Regions from separate parts of the Homo sapiens genome. Here region 1 is linked to region 2. The links are contacts of gene promoters, found by promoter capture Hi-C in blood cells and fetal thymus (Javierre and others, 2016). All regions are on one chromosome and are shown on one strand. Each heading gives the region's core, a stretch centred on a gene start or on the middle of the fragment in contact. The rest is flanking DNA. Distances are from core to core; before and after follow the strand shown. Region 1 overlaps FHAD1 (forkhead associated phosphopeptide binding domain 1). Region 2 holds the start of FHAD1-AS1 (FHAD1 antisense RNA 1).

Region 1 (5,011 bases), core at 902-3,401, 51 kb after region 2:
TAGAGTGCAGTGGTGCAATTTCGGCTCACTGCAACCTCCACCTCCCAGGTTCAAGCGATTCTCCTGCCTCAGCCTCCCGAGTAGCTGGGACTACAGGTATGCACCACCACGCCCAGCTAACTTTTGTATTTTTAGTAGAGACGGGGTTTCACTATATTGGCCTGGGTAGTCTGGAACTCCTGACCTCAGGTCCACCCTTCCAAGGTGGAGGGATTACAGGCATGAGCCACCGCGCCTGGCCAAAAATTCATTCTTTCTATGTATAAAGCAATAGCCATATCTACATAGATGTGGACACACACACACACGCACACACACACACACACACACACACTGCTATCTGTAAAAGGGTGAGGGGCTGGGGAAAAAACCTCTAAGAATTCTCAGGGGGCGAGGTTGATAGTGAAAGAAAGGCTGAGAAACACAGAGTTAGACTAATGAAGACATAAAGATCCCTGCCTGCCTGCCTGGCTTACAGTCTTGGGCTTTTTTTTTTTTGGAGACCGTGTCTTGCTCTGTGGTCCAGGCTGTAGTGCAGTGGCACCATCTCAGTTCACTGCAACCTCCACTTCCCAGGCTCAAGTGATCCTCCCACCTCAGCCTCCCAAAGTGCTGGGATTTTAGACATGAGCCACTGCCCCTGGCCTCTTTTTTTTTTTTTAAGTAAATACACATAATGATTAAATAATAACTTTGAGCCCAGTGTTTGGAGGACAAAGGCCCCTGAACTGAGCTGAGCATATTTCACAGGGACGTCTTCACTCCCAGTCCAAGCTCCAGGAGAGGCCTTCCTGAGGACCGTATATTTAAACTTAGACCTGAGGTTGTGTGGGAGTGGGCAGGGGGCTTCCTAGAGCCGAGGCTTGCAGTTTCCTGAAGCAGACACCCCAGGATGGCCTGAGTTCATTCACACCTGGGTGTGGCTATTTAAATGACCGGCTTCTACCCCTGCCTTTTCATTCTAAGGGTGAGGCACGTGGTTCCAAATATCTCAAGTGGAATCTGTGCATTTCACATTCCCCATTCCCAGGTCAGCGGTCCTGGCTGCCTTCTGCTGCCCCATCCTTTGTCATTTCATAAAGAGAACAAAGCCCCTTCCGTGGTGCTTCCCATCCCATGCTTCTGGCAGCCCTGGGGCTGGAGACCTGGGGACCTGGGACTCTTTAACAAACTCCCTGGCTCCAACTCTGACAGCCAACTCCACACCGGCTCAGGGCACTGGCATTTGGAAACCATCCACAGTCAGCAATTTTATTGAAAATCAAATGAAAAGGAATATAAAGTAAGGGTTGTTTAGGGGGGAAGGCTTTTGAGTTTGCTGTCTGTTTTCTTTTTCCCTGCGCATTTGGACCAATATTTACTTTGTGGGCTGGTATGGGACTGACTTACCCTTTCTTGCCCTGAAACAATCTTGAATGCAGAGTCTCAAAACACGTTTGAGGCTCCTGTCAGCCACTGTCACAGGCCTCAGGAGGTGATTTTTAAATCCATCTTAAGGTGAAAAGAGCTTAAGTGATGGTCCTAACAGACTCTTCCATTGAAATCTTCCCAGAATCTCCTCTGTGCCCTCTGAGGAAGGCAGGATCGATATTCATCCCTATTTGGCAGATGAGGAAACTGAGGGTCATGTAGTGAGTGGCAGAGCTGAAACGCGACTAGCCACCCAGCCCTCTTGCCCCAGGTGTATGTGCAGCCTGAAGGCTGGGGGCAAAGCTTTGCAGGAACAGAGTTGGCAAGGTAAATCCTGTTGGAAAGAAACTTGCAAGCCACAGTATTATCCACAGTGTGTCCAGAATTGTTTGCGAGAGAGATCTTGGGTTGCAGTTAACAAAAATCTACTCAGAAAAGGGGCAGGGCGGGGGGCTTTTATAAAGATACAGAAATGAATGCCTCATAAAACCTATGGGAAAGGCTGGGTGCGGTGGCTCACGCCTGTAATCCCAGCACTTTGGGAGGCCGAGATGGGCGGATCATGAGGTCAGGAGTTTGAGACCATCCTGGCTAACATGGTGAAACCCCATCTCTACAAAAAATACAAAAAAATTAGCCGGGCATGCTGGCGGGCACCTGTTGTCCCAGGTACTCGGGAGGCTGAGGCAGGAGAATGGCGTGAACCCGGGAGGCGGAGGTGAGCAGAGATCACGCCACTGCAGTCCAGCCTGGGCGACAGAGCAAGACTCCATCTCAAAAAAAAAAAAAAAAAGCTACGGGAGAGAACTAGGAGGATAGCCCAGGCATCGTCTCTCTCGTGCATGCATGCACTCGGGCACACACACGTCTCCATGTCATTTCTGCCCCTCTCCATACCTCTGCTGATTTCTTCTCTCTCCAGTGGTATGACAAGAAGGGACAGCCTCACAGTCCCCCAGTTCAAAGGGCCAGCCCAGGGAGCGAGTGGCATCTCACAGCCCATTACCCCGACTCCTAGGAGTGGGCATCGGAAAAGCCCAGCTGTGCCAAGTGTCCAACAAATATGGCCCGGGAGTGGGGTCATGCACACGGCTGCCAGGACGCCCCCTCCTTTGAGCTGGGAAGTGCTCAAGGGGTTAAACAGACCCCCTTAAATATACTTCACTTTCTCCTTCTAAGCCAAGCTTGTCCAACCCGCAGCCCAGGACAGCTTTAAATGCAGCCCAACACAAATTCGTAAACTTTCTTAAAACATTATGGGATAATTTTTTTTTTAGCTCATCAGCTACCATTAGTGTTAATGTATTTTACGTGTGGCCCAAGACTATTCTTCTTCCAGTGTGGCCCAGGGAAGCCAAAAGTTTGGACACCCAGTTCTAAGCCATCAGAGACTTTAGACACATTCAAGTCAGTAACAGCCTTTCAGGAGAAACACCATCACAATGAATGTGTTACTGTAAGAACCTCCTGGTTTCAAACTAAAAAATATGTAAAGGGACCAGGCTTGGTGGCTCACACCTGTAATCCCAGCACTTTGGGAGGCCAAGGAGAGCAGATCACTTGAGCCCAGGAACTCGAGACCAGCCTGGGCAACATGGCAAAACCTCATCTCTACAAAAAGTAAAATAAAATAAAATAATTAGTTGGGCATAGTGGTGCACACCTATAGTCCCAGCTTACTCGGGAGGCTGAGGTTGGAGGATCACCTGAGCCTGAGGAGGTCGAGGCTGCAGTGAGCGGGGATTGCTCCACAGCACTCCAGCCTGGGCAACAGAGTGAGACCCCATATCAAGAAAAAAAAAAAGAAAAAATAGAGAAAAGGAAAGCAATATCTGTATACCTGGAAGGGTGCACCCCAAAACCTCACTAAAGCTCATCTTTGAGTAACGTGATAATGATGAATCATTTTATCTCTTTTGTGCTCATATCTGTGTGTGTATATATATATTTTTTACAACAAATATTTTATTTTGTGTACAAAAAAATAACAAAACCAGCCGGGTGTGGTGGCTTATGCCTGTAATCCTAGCACCGTGGGAGGCCAAGGCAGGCAGATCACTTGAGGTCAGGAGTTCCAGACCAACTTGACCAACATGGTGAAACCCCCATCTCTACTAAAAATACAAAAATTAGCCGGGTGTGGCGGCATGTGCCTGTAGTCCCAGCTGCTTGGGAGGCTGAGGCAGGAGAATCACTTGAATCCGTGAGGTCGAGGTTGCAGTGAGCAGAGATCATGCCACTGCACTCCAGCCTGGGCCACAGAACAAGACTCTGTCTCAAAAAATAATAATAATAAGTAAATAAATAAGTACAATACAATAAAATACATGGGAAGTGTCTAGTTCTCCTCATGTTAAAAATAATTAAATAAGGCTGGGTGCGGTGGCTCAAGCCTGTAATCTCAGCACTTTGGGAGGCCAAGACGGGCGGATCACGAGGTCAGGAGATCAAGACCATCCTGGCTAACACGGTGAAACCCCGTCTCTACTAAAAAAAAAAAAAAAAAAAAATTAGCTGGGCGTGGTGGCGGGCGCCTGTAGTCCCAGCTACTCGGGAGGCTGAGGCAGGAGAATGGCATGAACCCAGGAGGCGGAGCTTGCAGTGAGCCGAGATCACACCACTGCACTCCAGCCTGGGCGATAGAGCGAGACTCCGTCTCAAAAAAAAAAAATTAAATAAAATAAAAAATAACAAAACCACTTGAGTGGAACAATTGGAGTCTTGCTGCAATGGAGTTTGTGTGTTTTTTCTCTTGCTTGTTAAAGGTTGGAACCAGAAAAGCCTCCCTAAAGATGGACCAAGAAAGAGAGATGCTGAGGAAAGAGACCTCCAGCAAGTCCAGCCAGAGCCTTTTGCATTCTAAGCCCAGTGGAAAGTACTAGAGAAACCTCGTCCCACCAGGCCTCATGTGATCCTCTGTGAGTTCATGTGACTCTTCTGTGTCATCTGTGTCAAAATACTGAGTTGCTTTTGTAAGTCTTTAAAGATTGTTACCCTAGTGTTTCATTTCCTAGACCAGTATTTTGAACAATATTATATTTTGGAGACTGTGGGGAGAAGGGTTCTTCTTTAAAAATACCTATGAATGTACACGAACTCAGGTATATGAAGAATAGAAGTGTGTAACCCAGATGTCCAGGCCTGGTAGATATAATTATGTGGTCCACGTTGGGTCATGATGTTCCCAAATATCAAACCTCCTAAGACTTCCAACAGACTCACACTTGAGAAAACCTAAGACTTGTACTGGAGCCTCAGGGCAGAATTGTAACCTTGGAGCTCTCAGGGCCTTGGGATAGTGAATTCAAGTCTCCGTTATGGCCTGGCAGGATGGCTCATGCCTGTAATCTCAGCACTTTGGGAGGCCGAGGCAGGCGGATTATAAGATCAGGAGTTTGAGACCAGCCTGGCAAACATAGTGAATACCTGTCTCTACTAAAAATACAAAAATTAGCCAGGTGTGGTGGCACATGCCTGTAGTCCCAGCTACACAGGAGGCTGAGGTGGGAGAATCACTTGAACCTAGGAGGCAGAGGTTGCAGTGAGCCAAGACCACGCCATTGCACGCCAGCCTAACAGAGTGAGACTCTGTCTTTAAAAA
Region 2 (5,168 bases), core at 273-2,772:
TGCCCATGAATTGTCTGGGGATCTGGTTAAGATGCAGATTCTGTCTCAGCAGGCCTGAGACGCTACATTTTCAACAAGCTCCCAGATGGTACTGACGCTACCAGTCTGCAGATCCACATTTTCTTAGGGCGAAGGCTTAGAGGAAGGTTTTCCCAAAGTTTCCTGATAAGAACCATCCAGATGCTTTGCTAAAAATGCAGATCTTGGTCTCCACCCTCCAGACCCATTAAATCAGAACATCTGGAGAGGGCCAGGAAACTGTATTATTTAATGAGCTGATTCTCATCACTGTCCTAGAGTTGGCCCTTTTTTTTCTTAAGATGGGGTCTTGCTCTGTTGCCCAGGCTGGAGTGCAATAGTGTGACCATAGCTCACCACAGCCTCGAACTCCCAGGCTGCAGTGGTCCTCCCACCTCAGCCTCCCAAGTAGCTGGGACCACAGGCATATGGCACTACACCCAGCTAATTATTATTTTTTTTTGTAGAGATGGGATCTTGCAATGTTGCCCAGGCTGGTCTTGAACTCCTGGGCTCAAGTGACCCTCCCACCTCAGTCTCTCAAGTAGCTGGGACCACAGGCACACACCACCACACCCAGCTAATATTTTTATTTTTTGTAGAAATGAGGTCTCTCTCTATGTTGCCCAGGCTGGTCTCAGACTCCTGGCATCAAGTGATCCTCCCACCTCAGCCTCCAAAAGTTCTGGGATTACAGGTATGAGCCACCATACCTGAGGGTTGGCCCTTTTTGATATTCAGGGACCCCTCCCATGAATTTCACTGTCTTTATGACTTTTGTCATTTAGGAGATTAAAAATTACTAATGCCTTGCACCTCTCCCCGCCGACTCTCCACATTCTGATCTTAGTGGGGTGAGGGTGTGGCCCCTGCTGTGGGATTTCTAAGCACTCCCGGGTGGTCGCAAAGTGCAGCCACGGTTGCGAGCCACTGTTGTGGGTGGGTGTGGAGCAGCGTGTGCATGCTGCCCCTCCTCACAGCCCCCTCAAGACAGCAGCCCCCCAGATCCACCGGACCCCAACTCTTCCCAGATATCTCCTCTCTTCCCCGGAAGAGTACTGGACCTGCCCCCTTCTCCATCTTTCCCCAGCTCCTTCTCTACCACACACACCTGCCCTCCAGACCTCTCCCTCTTTCATCTCCATCCTCACATGTGTGTCCAGTTACCCCAAAACATCAGTCTCCTCCTCCTTCTTCTCTTTGCCTCTTTCTCTGCTTTTCTGCATTTGCGAAATAAAAGATTAAAAAAGAAGAGCCATCTGACCAAATCATGTGCAATCCGCATAAAGGTAATATTAATGATAGCTATAAATCAAGATGGGCACATTTTGAAGGGCATTTAGATACGGAAAAAGCCAGCACCGTTCCATAGAGAAGAAAATAAAACCAGAAAGTACCTAGAAATCTTCAAAATCTTCGCAGAACTCTCCACCGACTTCCTTTTTTCTTCTCTGATTACCTTCTCCTTTTAACATCGGCATCCCAAATGCCTTATTTTCTCTTTTTAATTTTGGATGGACTTTTTCCCTTGTCAGGGTTTGGTATTTCAGCCCCACCATGTTAAACACTGCGTTGGGCGCCTGCCTAGTCTTCCTAGACAACCCTGGCGACACTGGCCTGGCAGAGTGTTTTAAGAGCTGGCGTCAGCCCCTCTTTTAAACCTGAAAACCTCGGTGCACCCTACCCTCCTTGCAGAGGGAGGAAGCAACATCAGGTCCCTGCCAGACAGACTGTGACACTCGAAGGTCGCCCTTCCTCTGATACTCGGATTGATGGACTTGACCCTGGGGACTCCTTGGAAAGTTACCTCTTGGACTTCAGTGCCAAGTGTCCTGACTAAATGAGCCTTCCTTAGACCTTCTGACTCCCATCACCTGCCCTTTCCGAAAATACATGTGTCCAGGGTCATTAATCTCATGAATCTTGACTTGTTTGAGGACTTTGTTTCAAAGGGAAAAAAAATTCTATGTTCCTTTATCAATCTAACATTCTTTTCTTATTGCCAGTTGTTGACAACAATCCCTTGGTTTGTGCACACACCAATGGGTTAGATCAGGGATTGGCCAAATTGTCCCATAAAGAGCCAGATAGTAAATATTTTCAGTTTTGCAGGTCATATGCTCTCTGCTCTTCTGCAAAAGCAGCCATAGACAATACACAGCAAGCACAGTGTTCCAATAAAACTTTATTTACAAAAACAGACCAGATTTGGTCTGTAAGCCATAGTTTGCTAACCTCTGGTTTAGAACACAGGCTTCAGAATCAAATGGGTCAGAGTTAGAATCCCTCCTCTTGTGATTTACTAGTAAACTGGGTGGATTCTTGAATGTAAGCCTGTTTCCTCCTCTGCAAGGTGGGAAGCATGGTTATCACTGTGCCAAGCATTTCGTGTTCATCGTCGCATCCACCCCTCACATCAACCCAACACAGGAAGACTATTACTGTCTCCGTTGTACAGGCAGGGAAACTGAGGCTCTGGTAGCTTCACTTCCCCAGTGCCTTACAGCTGGAAAGGATCAACCTGGGGCTCTACCCTGGGTCTCCTGACTCCAGAGCACATGCTCTGAGCTCCTAGGCTCTGCTGCCCACAGCCTCCCCAGGGGAGTGCGGTGAGGAGTGAAGAGGTAGCACATGCAGTGCCTGGCAGCGTCCAAATTCCTGCCATGGTAACCATGTCTGTTAAACAATGGTCATTGGTTTCCAGGCTTTGGAGGAGTACATTACTCAAGAGAGAAACAGAGCGAAAGAGACTTTAGAGGAAGAACGGAAGAGAATGCAAGAACTGGAGAGCCTCCTGGCCCAGCAGAAGAAGGTATGTGGCTCAGGGAGACAGAGTCAGCTCGAGCCCCACTGCAGCTAGGAAGGGTGGATCTGGGGCTCTGGTCTGGGCCCGCCGGCTCTGAGCTCCAGGGCTGTGCTGTCCACAGTCCCCTAGGGAGGTGTAGTCTGGAGGGAAGAGGAAACCTGTGCGGTGCCTGGCAGAGTCCAGTTTCCTCCCATGGTAACCATGTCTATTGAACAATGATCGTTGACTCAGGCTTTGGCGAAAAGCATTACCCAGGAGAAGAACAGAGTGAAGGAAGCATTAGAGGAAGAGCAGACAAGAGTCCAAGAGCTGGAGGAACGCTTGGCCCGCCAGAAGGAGGTACGCTCGGGGAGATAGAGTCGGCTGAGCCCCAGTCGGCTTGAGGGCCATGTGGAAGGAAGTTCAGAGCGGCGATGATGGGGGTGAGATCGTGGTGGAGCCTTCCTCGTGGAGTTTGCGTTTGGGTGGGCTCAGCTACTTTGGGAAGCGTGGGAGACTCAAGGAGGGAACCCTGGAGTTGTAGCCTTGACAACCAGTTGGGAAAAAATTGTAAACAGTGTAAAACACAGTCAGAGAGAGAGAGCGCTTGGGAGACAAGTAGGAATGGTGACATGGGCGTCTTCTGTGTTCCAAAGCACAGAAACGGGAGAATGACAGAGTCATGGGACCTCAGGGCTGCGTGGACCCTCCACCAGCATCCTAAAAGCCTCCAGCCTTCAGCACCACCACTAAGGAATGTTCTCCACCCCAGGACAGTCCGTCCCAGCATGGATGCCTCAGGCCGACAGAAAGTTTTCCCTTTAGGTTGAGTTGTGTCAAACTCTTACGCCCCGGAGGAGTATCAGTCCTCCGCCCTCCCCTGCGCTCCCACAAGATACATCTACTTCCTCTTCCACATGATGACTCAGATGTGTGAAAACAGGGGCGCCCGCACCCTGTGTCTGCTCCTCCCCGGGCCCAAGCGCCCTTGTTCCTCAGGTCCCTCACAGGACTAGAGCCTGGCCCTGGCTGCCTCCTGTGGCCTGTGCTGCTCTCCAGAAGTCACAGACTGGTAGCTCAGCGACTAAAAAGGGCCTGTGGAAGTTATATTTGGCCCCGGAATATTTTACTTTGAATTCATAAAATCTATTTAAAAGTTCAGATTTCCAGCCTCTCCCGAAAAGTCAGAAAATCTAGCCCTTGTTTCTACTTAGCAAAAATGGACTAGAAGCCTTACCGGGTAGCAGCAGTTTGCCAGAGTCCTCACCACTCCCCGTTGCATTAAACACAGCCCACGTCATTTTTGGTATCTGTCCGGGCTTCATAGGCATTGAGTTTGTCACCCATCACCCATTTTCTTCCTAAAGGGAGGTGGCCAGAACCACTGTTCTCCAGCCACGGTAGCCTAGGGGAGGACTCCTCCCTCCCGCATTGAAGATATTCTACTTCTGTTAATGCATCCAAACTAGCTTTTGGGAAAGCTCTGTCACATTTGTGGATTCATGTTTAGCTTGTGGTCACCCTCAGATCCCTGATCCTTTTTCACATCTGCTTTCATGAATTCCTCAATCCTGACACAGCACAGAGGAGTGCGGGCTTTGCAGCCAGATGAGACACAAGTTCAAATCCGAGCTGGGCTACTTCCTGGCTGCAGCAGACCTACCGCTGCCTCCCTTCTCGAAGGGGCGGCTGTGGGCTCAGATCTAGTGTATAATGGAGGGCCTGGCCTGCGGAATGATTGCCGAGTAAACGGCAGCTGTTACTACTGTCTCTGCTGCCACTTGTGCCTCTTCTTCTGTTTGGGCATTTGTTTTTCTTCAACACTGACTCCTTGAGTAAAATCCTTGCCCACCCACTGCTGCAGGAGAAACAAAAAGACCTCTGGGCAAAGCCTGTGCCATTTGATCTGACCCAGGACAGAGAGACGTTTACATGTCGGTTCTCCCTTGGCGTCTCTGGCACAGGTGTGCCCTGCAGCCCTCTCACAGAGCGTCACTGAGGTTTGCCCCCAAGTGATTTCTCCAGGGGTGGGGATGAGGAGGAGGGTCTCCAAAGAGTTACTTGAGTCAAATGCCCCAAGATGTCAACAGCAAAAGCCTGGGGAAGATTCTTGAATTTAGAGACTTTGAGGCCACGGGGCTCAGGAGATAAATTCAAGCTTCATTGCAGAGGATCTGTGGTTGGGTCACCCCGCGTCTGTTAAAATGTCAGCCTACTTCTGACAGAACTTCTCTGTGGCTTCCTATCGGGGGAATTTGAAAGAGCAGCCCCAGCCACAGGCTCCATTCAACTGCCAGTGGCTATTTGATTTTCTTTTTTTCTGTCTCCCAGGCTGGAGTGCAGCGGCATGATCTTGGTTCACTGC

Evidence for each region. Contacts are between HindIII fragments. The CHiCAGO score rates a contact against its expected background, and 5 or more counts as called.
Region 1: a fragment that was not itself captured here is called in contact with the fragment with the promoter of FHAD1-AS1 in region 2 in 5 of 17 cell types (M1 macrophages, endothelial precursors, M0 macrophages and 2 more); the score reaches 5.7 in M1 macrophages.

The regions. Positions count from the first base shown.
Region 1 is chr1:15,393,122-15,398,132 of GRCh38, forward strand. FHAD1 (forkhead associated phosphopeptide binding domain 1) reads left to right here. Exons shown (of 34, transcript NM_001391957.1): 34 at 4,176-5,011. The coding sequence ends at 4,292. Among named protein-coding and RNA genes, the nearest start is that of EFHD2, 14 kb to the right of the region's middle. RefSeq lists a silencer at 3,946-4,113. The HindIII fragment of the contact is 881 bases long and covers 1,712-2,592 here.
Region 2 is chr1:15,342,361-15,347,528 of GRCh38, forward strand. It overlaps FHAD1-AS1 (FHAD1 antisense RNA 1), which reads right to left and starts at 1,523. Exons shown (of 2, transcript NR_148919.1): 1 at 1,416-1,523. FHAD1 (forkhead associated phosphopeptide binding domain 1) reads left to right here. Exons shown (of 34, transcript NM_001391957.1): 17 at 2,723-2,830; 18 at 3,056-3,163. RefSeq lists an enhancer at 3,433-3,632. The HindIII fragment of the contact is 5,872 bases long and covers 1-4,959 here.